3 separate regions of the Homo sapiens genome follow, and all the other regions are linked to region 1. Evidence: promoter capture Hi-C in 16 types of primary human blood cells and fetal thymus (Javierre and others, 2016). All regions are on one chromosome and are shown on one strand. The core of a region is centred on a gene start or on the middle of the fragment in contact, and the rest is flanking DNA. Distances in the headings are between cores, read along the strand shown. Region 1 holds the start of FAM216B (family with sequence similarity 216 member B). Region 2 overlaps CCDC122 (coiled-coil domain containing 122). Region 3 has its middle 14 kb from the start of ENOX1.

The links. The method cuts DNA at HindIII sites, captures the fragments that hold promoters and counts their contacts. A CHiCAGO score of 5 or more calls a contact.
Region 2: a fragment that was not itself captured here is called in contact with the fragment with the promoter of FAM216B in region 1 in 1 of 17 cell types (monocytes); the score reaches 5.3 in monocytes.
Region 3: a contact is called between a fragment that was not itself captured here and the fragment with the promoter of FAM216B in region 1, in 1 of 17 cell types (M2 macrophages). The highest score is 8.3, in M2 macrophages.

Annotation. Positions count from the first base shown.
Region 1 is chr13:42,779,726-42,783,399 of GRCh38, forward strand. It overlaps FAM216B (family with sequence similarity 216 member B), which reads left to right and starts at 1,859. Exons shown (of 4, transcript NM_001318932.2): 1 at 1,859-1,939. The HindIII fragment of the contact is 7,774 bases long and covers 1-3,674 here.
Region 2 is chr13:43,832,949-43,836,622 of GRCh38, forward strand. CCDC122 (coiled-coil domain containing 122) reads right to left here. Exons shown (of 7, transcript NM_144974.5): 7 at 3,404-3,674. Among named protein-coding and RNA genes, the nearest start is that of CCDC122, 45 kb to the right of the region's middle. The HindIII fragment of the contact is 4,663 bases long and covers 1-3,674 here.
Region 3 is chr13:43,799,132-43,802,805 of GRCh38, forward strand. No RefSeq gene overlaps it. Among named protein-coding and RNA genes, the nearest start is that of ENOX1, 14 kb to the left of the region's middle. The HindIII fragment of the contact is 764 bases long and covers 1,400-2,163 here.

The sequences.
Region 1 (3,674 bases), core at 609-3,108:
TTGGGAAAACATTTTTTGTCCCAAACTTAGGATATGCATTACTCCCTCATTCTTATATTTTAAAATATGTCTACAAATTTAGATCTCATTCTTTGATACCATCTACATAGCTAGTTTTATCTTATTTCCTCTTTTCTTATAAATTGACAACTTTCAGTGATGTTAGGTAAACATTGACTGTATGTCTAAGTCCTTCATCCTCCTGCCTGACTTCATAGGTCCCAAAGGTACCTCTTAGATTTGTGTTTGTGTTAGAGAGTGTCCACCATCTGTCGGCCTCATGTTGATTCTTCTATACCCTTCTGTTTATCAGAGTAGTAGGAAGACTGCAAAATACATTTCCCAAAATCCCTTGCTAGCTGGCATCCAATGGAGGGCAGGACATGAATGAAGGCTGGAGGGAAGAAGCCATTTTTTAAAAATACTTTCTGCTTGCACCTGTGGCAGTGCCAGCAGCAGCAGCCACATGGACAGCAACAGTGGTGACAGCAACAGCAAGATTAGCAGTTTGGGCAAGAACATAGAAGCAAGGGTGCCTGGTGAGCACAGGTTCCTGAGGCGCTGCTCAGGCAGCAGTTCTCCAAAGGAAGCAGCCTCTATGGCACAGTGTCCATGGGCTGTGGGTAAAATCATTTTCCCTATTGTCCTCCAGCTCTATGTGCAATCACAGTTTAGTGCAATTGCCAGTCCTTGGATAACCTAACCCTTCTTGTTTTACTCCTCTAACCCATTTCTATATTTTCATAACAGATTCCTTACATTAAATGCCCTCTGTCAAACACAGATCTGTTACTGTTCTCCTGATTGAGTAGCGTCCAAGGCAAGCTGGTAGGAATTTCAGCATGTGTGTGCAACATCAGCAGATGCAGTGCACCCAGAATGAATTTCATCATATCCTGGAAAAACGTTTGAGGAAGACTCGATTGACAATGTCAACTCTGCACACCACTGTTCTTTATCTCTTGGTAAAGAATCATCAACCTCTCAGATCCAGTGAAAGATTTTATGTTATTTACTGGCATTTAAAGACACTTGTTTGTGCTGTGCTTATTTCCCAGGAGGTCTGCATTCAAATTACTGGGGAAAAAATGCAAGACTTTTGCATCTGTTGAGCCCTTTCTTCTTTAAGGCATATGATTCATCACTCTCATCTCCCTGCTTTTTTCTTCCCCTTAGTCTCCTAAGAATTTTGAATGTATTTTCTTTTGATATTTCTTCTTCCCTTTTCTTTAGGAACTCTTCATCTTTGCAGATAAGCTGGCATTCAGAAGGAGGACACTTGAGAAAGAAAGGAAGCCAGTAGAATAATGCTATCACAGAAGAAAGGATGAGGTCAGTGTGGGCTCTAGTCTTACGCCACAGGTTAATTATCATCATATGTAGCCTCTAATTAAGATAAAATATGGAGAATATCTTATTCCCCCACAAAATGAAAGGGAACTTAGCTTAAACTATGGAATAATTTCATAGGTTACCACAGGCAAATTCATGCCCATACCTCTATATTCAGGAACTCTTCCTTCATCATCCTGAGCAATGAGGAAGGGGACTACTGACTCCAAATTTTGGAAATATTTATGTCATGGCCCATTGCCCTGATGGATTTGTTGACCTTTAATATTTAGAATCTCTGCCTCTATGCATGTTACCCCCGATATCTGCATGTAACACAGATATGGTAGATTTAGAAGATGACACTTGATTAGACACAAAATGTGGAAGAAAAAATATCAAACTGTGTAGCTGAATGTTACCCAGAAGTGAAGAAAGGCATGCAGCCAGATTTCCCCAGCTCTTTGTTTCATCACATGATGTTGCTTGGATATCAGCTTATCAACAGACTTCCACCACCACCACCAGCATATAAACAGAGTCCGCGTAAGAAAACTACACTGAATAGGAATGGCAGCTTTTAAAAGTGGGGGAACTACAGTATAGGGTAAGTTCTTTTTAGGCAAATCTGTCTTTTTGTTTCAGATATATTATTTTGTAGATGTTTCTCTCCCTGAATTCCATGAGTATTTTAATCAAATTTTATCAGGTATAGGCCACTTGAATAGGTAAGATAAATTTATTCAGCAGTAGCCCCAGAAAAGCACACATGAATTGTTGCCATAAGAAAGAGCATCAGTCATTTCTTTATGCTATTTGAGGAGAGAAGAAATCTTTCCAGCTTGAAGCATATTTATTCTCTGTTCTACAGATCTGGAAAATGGGAGGAGGGATATTGAAATGATTTGAGTACAGGATAGAGCGTAGGTGTCAATCACAGAGAATATTACAGGAGTATATCTTGGTTGGTATGGTTTCTGGAGTGCACATTAAAGGAAAGCAGTACTGACTAAAATATTTACAGTTTAATTTAGACATTTATATAGCAGAAACAGTACACACAGAGATGTTGACTAATGTTTTCCTAATAAATTTCTCTTCTGGAAGAATGGAACCTTCGATGTGTGAACTCAAATCAGTCTCCACATGTATTACAATACTCCTTAAGCATGTGTATGTTTATGAACCTATGAGTGTGCATGTGTTTGTGTGCATGAACATGCGTGAAGGTCGGGTAGAGAGAGAAGAAACTGGCATAAAGTGAGAGCATTCTATATTCACGATTTCAGTGAATCAAACACCCAGTGAGGTAGGCATTGTAACTGCTGTCTTAAGGATGAGAGGGCTGAGGCTTACAGAAGGAAAGAAACTCAAGTCTTTCTAGTTCTAAAGGCCATACAGCCTCTATTACAGTTTATTTTCTTCAGTTAATATACGTGCAGGTATTAATAATAATCTACGTTTAGCAGATTGTTACTATGTTTGATTTGCTGTGGTCTTACTTTCTATCATTCAGTAATTCACACTGCTAACAAAGACAAAGGAGTAAGCAGAGGGGAAAATACTCTGGGTTTGCACTTTGTGATTTGGCAACCTATTCCAATATGTCTATTCTTGCTGGATTGTTAAATTCATATTATTATACACACTTCAGACTCTAAACCCTAAATCACCAGGAAAGGAGACTTAATCATAGCAAATGTGACTCTATTATTCTGTATCTTTCTCAGGCAAGTGGAAACATGACAAGTTTAATAGTTTTATAGTACAATGCTATAAAATTGCACATCTAAATTGCAAGAAGTGGAGAATGACGTAAAGGCATACTACACTGCCACTAAAAATCATATTTTTAAGGAATATTTAATGATCTGAGAAAGTGCACAAAATGTATAAATTATGATCTCCCTTTTCTAAAATTACACACAATGTACACAGAAAAAAAAAATAAATAAATAAAAGGAAAGTGAAGCTCAGCATGGTGCCTCATACCTGTAATCCCAGCACTTTGGGAGCCTGAGGTGCAGGATAACTTGAGCCCAGGAGTTTGAGACCAGCCCAGGGAACATAGGGAGATCTTATCTCTACTAACAATTTAAAAAATAATTGGGTGTGGGGTGTGTACCTGTAGTCCCAGCTACTCAGGAGGCTGAGGTGGGAGGATGGCTTGAGCCCAGGAGTTCAAGACTGCGGTGAGCTATAGTCGCACCACTGTGCTCCAGCCTGGATGATAGAGTGAGACTCTGTCTCAAAAAAACATATAAATAAATAAACAAATAAAAGGAAATCAACCAAATGCTAACAATAATTATGGATAGTTAGATGCAAGTTGAGTATGCCTT
Region 2 (3,674 bases), core at 841-3,340, 1.1 Mb after region 1:
GTTTAGTGTTGTTATTTTGTATCTACAGTGTTTTTGGAAAATAGCATGATTAATCAATTGACTGGAAGACACACAGTCTAACAGACAATATATAGACCATTTATATTGGCCATGAAAGTGTCCATAATGGCTGACTTAACTGGCTTTAATGTGTAAAATATGGTGACTCCCATGGTTTTTAAGATATGGCTTAAAGTAGATATCAATTTCTTTACATTGGTCAACTATAATTTGTCCATAGGTTGCACATGTAGTAAGTAATATTTTGAGATATTAACTGTGGGGTTTTTTTCCCTCCCTCCGCTTCCTTGCATTTGTTACCTTTTACTGACCATTTAGGTAACAGTGCCTAGCAGGCCCGGATCAGGACAGATACTACTGAGAATTCAGAAGTAATTTGTTTGCTTTGAGTTTCATATGAGGCCTTTTAAAAAGTCCACAGTAGAAACAGTATTCTTGAAATTATAGCTTTCCTTTGCAGAAGACTCAGTATTTTGAGAGTTGACATTTTGCTGAGCCATTAAAAGCACTGAGAACCTTGGAAGAATCCATTTATACTGAAATCAAGGAGTGGGGAAGAATGCATGGATAGAATAACAGGTCCCAAAGAGATAAAATTTGACCAGCATTCAGACAGATAATGAACTAGGGCTAGAAGAGGTCTTGTGATTGGACAATGAAGCTGACCGCATTGACTAAACAATTGCAGGTATAGCACAGACTCACGATGATCCTAAGCACCAGGAAGAATGGATTATTAGATCTCTGCAGAGGCCAGTGAGATCAGAAAATGACATTTGGTGCAGAGCAGTGTCCCTGATGACACAACAAGTCCACCAGGTACTTAGAACACTTCCATGCAGAAAAAAAACGAAGAAGAGGAGAATTTTGAACTGAATATTTACCTCAAAGAGACTGAGCTTTAAAACAGAAGCATGTGTGTGAAACGCCACTAAGCAAAAGAGCTCATATTCTAAGCTAGGTTCAATTATACAGAACTAAAATTAAAAATAACTTCAATTTTCTAATATTAGAGTTTATGATTGTGTTGAAATATCATATCCACTAAATCATCAGGCTTTGGATACCTCAAATTTTAGTTCTTAATTAATCTGAAATTCTCTATTATCTGAAATAGTTTCCAAGATAAGAAAGAACAGAGATATAGACCAATGGAACAGAACAGAGCCCTCAGAAATAATGCCGCATATCTACAACTATCTGATCTTTGACAAACCTGGCAAAAACAAGAAATGAGGAAAGGATTCCCTATTTAATAAATGGTGCTGGGAAAACTGCCTAGCCATATGTAGAAAGCTGAAACTGGATCCCATCCTTACACCTTATACAAAAACTAATTCAAGATGGATTAAAGACTTAAACATTAGATCTAAAACCATAAAAACCCTAGAAGAAAACCTGGGCAATACCATTCAGGACATAGGCATGGGCAAGGACTTCATGTCTAAAACACCAAAAGCAATGGCAACAAAAGCCAAAATTGACAAATGGGATCTAATTAAACTAAAGAGCTTCTGCACAGCAAAATAAACCACCATCAGAGTGAACAGGCAACCTACAGAATGGGAGAAAATTTTTGCAATCTACTCATCTGACAAAGGGCTAATATCCAGAATCTACAATGAACCCCAACAAATTTATAAGAAAAAAACAAACAACCCCATTGAAAAGTGGGCAAAGGATATGAACAGACACTTCTCAAAAGAAGACATTTATGCAGCCAAAAGATACATGAAAAAATGCTCATCATCACTGGCCATCAGAGAAATGCAAATCAAAACCACAATGAGATACCATCTCACACCAGTTAGAATGGCAATCATTAAAAAGTCAGGAAGCAACAGGTGCTGGAGAGGATGTGGAGAAATAGGAACACTTTTACACTGTTGGTGGGACTGTAAACTAGTTCAACCATTGTGGAAGTCAGTGTGGCGATTCCTCAGGGATCTAGAACTAGAAATATCATTTGACCCAGCCATCCCATTACTGGGTATATACCCAAAGGATTATAAAACATGCTGCTATAAAGACACATGCACACGTATGTTTATTGCGGCACTATTCACAATAGCAAAGACTTGGAACCAACCCAAATGTCCAACAATGATAGACTGGATTAAGAAAATGTGGCACATATACACCATGGAATACTATGCAGCCATAAAAAATGATGAGTTCATGTCCTTTGTAGGGACATGGATGAAGCTGGAAGCCATCATTCTCAGCAAACTATTGCAAGGACAAAAAACCAAACACCGCGTGTTCTCACTCCTAGGTGGGAATTGAACAATGAGAACACATGGACACAGGAAGGGGAACATCACACACTGGGGCCTGTTGTGGGGTGGGGAGAGTGGGGAGGGATAGTATTAGGAGATATACCTAATACTAAATGATGAGTTAATGGGTGCAGCACACCAACATGGCACATGTATACATGTGTAACAAACCTGCACATTGTGCACATGTACCCTAAAAATTAAAGTATAATAAAAAAAGAAAGAACAAGGAGAAAAAGTTTCTTTTTCAAAGAATTTTTGACTGTCATAAAATGTAAAATAGGTATATGTATTAAGGATATTTTAGAAAACTACATTAAAACTTACTTTTAAAAATAGAGCACATTATCTTAAGCAGATTACAGCTATTTTCTTCATATCTGAATTTAAAAACAAGTTTTTGAATCTATAACTCAAGGTGTTATCATTTACAAATATTTTGAATCTCAATATAAACTTTAAAACACTTTAGAAAACTATAATTTTTTATAAGCGATAACTACACTTAGAAAATATAATAACTTTTTAATATGCAAGTTACATTAAAATATACTTATATAATCAGCATTTGGTTCTGGCTTATCTCCAGCCGAGTATAGTGTGTACTCCCCACAATCTGTAGGTTTCACCATTTTCACTGTAGCTTTGTTTCTGAGTCATGGACCAAAGCTGATTGTGTTACAGGATAAGCTGTTTGAAGTGTAAGCCACATTAAGCCATGCTAAGCCACAATAAAACTATTACTGTTAGACATAATAAGATTATTAATATCAGGTTTTATATCAGCTCCACTTACTGAATTTTAGCACATAGAAAGGTAAGGAGAAAATGGATTTTAAATATTTTTTGATGCTGTTTGAAATTATTTAATCCTACAAATGAATATTTTAAAACCATATCTTCCTATTTGTTTTTGTTTCTAAGTATTTGACTCAATGGAACCATGAAAAGGAGGAGCACGTTTATCTTGAAAGGGACAAGTTAACATTTGATTTATTGACATTTTGCCTTTCAGTGAGAAAAAATATGTTAGTCTATAGTGAGTAATACTCTTAAGAGTTACATGATGTTATAACTTTAATTTAGTCACAGAATACGAATAATTTATAGAAAGTGAACAAAATATTTTATTCATCGTATCACTCAAAATATGTTATTTTATAACAAAGAAAAATGATTGTTACCTTCTGGATAAAAGAGAAAATGGAGTAAAATATTTGAAGCATTGAACATACAAAAACATTATTATAAATATCAATATTTATGGGCTACTGTGAAGGCAGCTGTAAAAAAACAAGTTCCAATAAAAAGTTCGAAACAGGCCGGGCGCGGTGGCTCACGCCTGTAATCCCAGCACTTTGGGAGGCCGAGGCG
Region 3 (3,674 bases), core at 532-3,031, 1.0 Mb after region 1:
AAATGCCAAGAAGCAACAACATCCATATGAGGTGAATAGGTGGAAATTATTATTTCTGTCTATAGCAAGGTGAAAATAAAATGAGTGCTTTACAATTTTCAAAGCATTCTCATATCGATTATCTCATTTGTACATCACACCGACAATGGGAGAAAGCCAGATGGAGCAGTTTTACTGTTATCCTCTTTCTGTCCTTGTATGATAGTGGAAAGTGAGACTAAGAGGTTAAGTGCCTTGTCCACGTCATCAGGGAAATCCCAGCCTACAGGATCTCTACCCTGCTCTTCTGGTTTTAAGTTGGTACAAATATTTGCGCATTCTTATGGAGTGCATGTGATATTTTGTTACATGTAATGATTAAGTCAGGGTATTCCAGGTATCCATTACCTTGAGTATTTGTCATTTCTATGTGTTGGGGACAGTTCAAGTCCCCTTTCTAGCTATTTTGAAATATAAAATACATTGTTGTTAACTATAGTCACCCCATTCTGCTAGTGAATATTAAAACTTAGCCCTTCTACCTAACTATATGTTCGTACACATTAACCTGCCTCTTGTTATCCCTCTCCCACCCACTCAGCCTTCCCAGATTCTGCTATCTGTCATTCTATTCTCTACGTCCTTATAAGTAACTTTTTTAGTTCCCGCATATGAGTGAGAACATGAAGCATCTGTCTTTCCATGCCTGTTCTTATTTCACTTACCATAATGACCTCTAATTCCATCCATGTTGCTGTATATGACAGGATTTCATTCTTACATTTTCTTTATCCATTTGTCTGCTGATGGACACTTAGGTTGATTCCATACCTTTGCTATTGTAAGTAGTACTGCAATAAACATGGGAGTGCAGATATCGAACTTTTTATCCTTTGAGTAAATACCCAAGAGTGGGATTGCTGAATCATATGGTAATTTCCCTGCCTTTCTCAACTAATGCTGCGGGAACTTCATAGTGATATGGGTCTTGACAGGTCTTGAACATGACAAGAAGTATATCTATTTTGTTACCTTTGTGAGAGAGCACTTAACTCTGACTCTGGCCCACAGCCAGTGCTTAGTAAATAGTTGTTTAATTAAAATAAATAAATAAATAAATAATATTATAGACATCAAGTCAGCAGAACTCATGAACTAATTATTGAATCCATAGCAAGGCCTGACATCCTCGCCATCTTGGCTGCTGCTCAACCCACAAAATCCATTACATATTGTTAGTTTTCTGTTTCATTTAGTGAAACTTGTAATGCCAATTGTCAATACTACTTTCCAGTCATATCATTCTCCCAACTGCTGCTACTTCTATTCAGTAGCTCAGGTACATAGGCACTTCTTTAATAAACTTAATTATATCATGCAAAATGCAATCAATGGACGAGCACGAGCCTTAAAAAGTTTAAGCTTAACCTTTCATTTCATTAAGAAAATGTGTGATATGTTTATTTAAACCTTGTGAGTTGTCAAGCCCCAGAAGCCAGACACTGATATCAGGACGCATGTGACTTACAATTGAGAGTCTGCTATTCATGTCCTCTGTTTGTGTGAATGGCATATAAGAGTTCCAAGACATTTGTGTGTTATGTTGAGCTTTGAAGAATGTTGAGCACACAATCTGAATTTTATAATAAGAGAGTTGAAGAATCATAGAAAATAAAAGAAAGGTAAGAGAATGGCTGTGCATTTCTTAGTGGCTATTTTCTTTAAATGCGGCTGAAGACAGTCAGTAACATTAGCCATGCTAGATTTGGGCTGAAGGAAATGCTCAGATGTTAGTTGCTAGGAATGCCCTACAACTCTTGATTGTGCCAAATCAAATGACAATGCACATATATGATATATACACTAGCTTAGAGACCATATCAGCCTCCTTAACATCCTTTCTATATATACTGTAAGTTAGCAGATGCATTTTGGTCTTTCGGTAGCATTTTAGCTAAGTAACTTTTCAAAATGGTTCATCAAGGAAGCTGGTGGTTGAACTTAGTATATCTTATTTCTCAGAATCATAATCAACTCAAGAGACCACCAATCCTTTTTCACCCACACAGTCTTTCTTAAACACGCATATTGTTCTATTACAGCTAACTTCCTATCTTTAGTTCAGTTGTTCATTTTTCAGAAAAACTGACAAAACATCAATTAAATTATTTCTGTTAGAAGAAAAGCTTAAAGTGAAGACCTTATGATAATATATTCTAATAACATTTTGAATAATTATAGAATATACAATCCTGGATTCATTAGTGCATTCAGTGTCAACATGTGGTCATCCAGTTTTATTATCCCTTTAATAAAGCCATCTAAGATTTGTAAGTACTTTGCCAACTTCTCATATTAAGTCAAAGGCCTGAGGGACATGCAGAGAAAGTTCACAGGAGAAAGTGAGTCCCAGCTCTTTATTACACGCATATTGACACTAGTTAAATTTAAAAATGAAATTACCTAAATATCTGAGTAATATGTTTTACTTGTGTAAAGTACAATAGAATTTAAGAGGCCAAGGTGGCAGACCACTTCAGGTCAGGAGTTTGAGATTAGCCTGGCCAACATGGCGAAACCCCATCTCTACTAGAAATATAAACGTTAGCCAGGCATGGTAGCACATGCCTGTAATCCCAGCTACTAGGGAGTCTGAGGCAGGAGAATTGCTTGAACTCAGGGGGCGGAGGTTTCAGTGAACCAAGATCACACCACTGCACCTCTGCCTGGGTGACAGAGCAAGACTCCATCTCAAAAAAAATTTTTTAAGTAAATAAATAAATAAAATACTTATTGGGTGTTATTCAAGTGTGTGTATGTGGTGGTAGTGGGGGGTCATTTTTATTAATAGGAGTGAGAAAATGAATGGCTTAGAAATAATACAATGTCTTGTCCTTTGGTGTTCTGTTAATTCTACCAGTATATTTCACCATACTTAATATTCTGTACCATGTTGTTTTTGTTAAATTTTAAATGTGCTAATAGATGCTCATTAAAGTAATTCTGTTGTTATTTCTCTTAAAATAATCTTTTAAAATAATTATCCACAACTACTTTTTTGTTGTTGCAAGTCTAGATTTTCATATGTGAAGTCGCTTAAGGACTCACCTATGCTCTACGTCAATTTTTAATCAAGTATCGAACATCTACATTTCAGGTGTTGTGATAAAATACACCAATCACTTCCTGTAGGGCATGGATTATTATTCTCATTTTTTATAGATGAGAAAACTCTGCTTCAAAAAGGTTAAATAAGTTCCTAAGGTAAGAAAACTAATAAATGCTAGAACCTGTCTAGGAATCCAAATCTGTCTTTCTCCAAGGCCTATGCTCTTTTCAGTATAGCATGTAGCCTCTCAAAATTTAAAACTATCAAGGTTTATACAAATATATGCACTTTCACACACATATACACCCAGGCAGAGTAGGATTCTTTTCTTTTGAAAAATAGCCTTGACAACCAAAACATAATTGCATTGGAAAGACATGAGTTTTGATGGTGAACTTATGACATTTTGGTATATACCTGCCTTGGTTTTAACCTTTACAAAATCTCAATTAGCACTGGGCCAACCTTGATGAATCATCCTTGCTCTTAGTAAAGTAAATATGATTTGTGAAAGAGACAGTTTCCCATTTTCTGCACCTCTAAAGAGTTGTGTCATCAGGTATGAAAGCTAACAATAGATTTAATA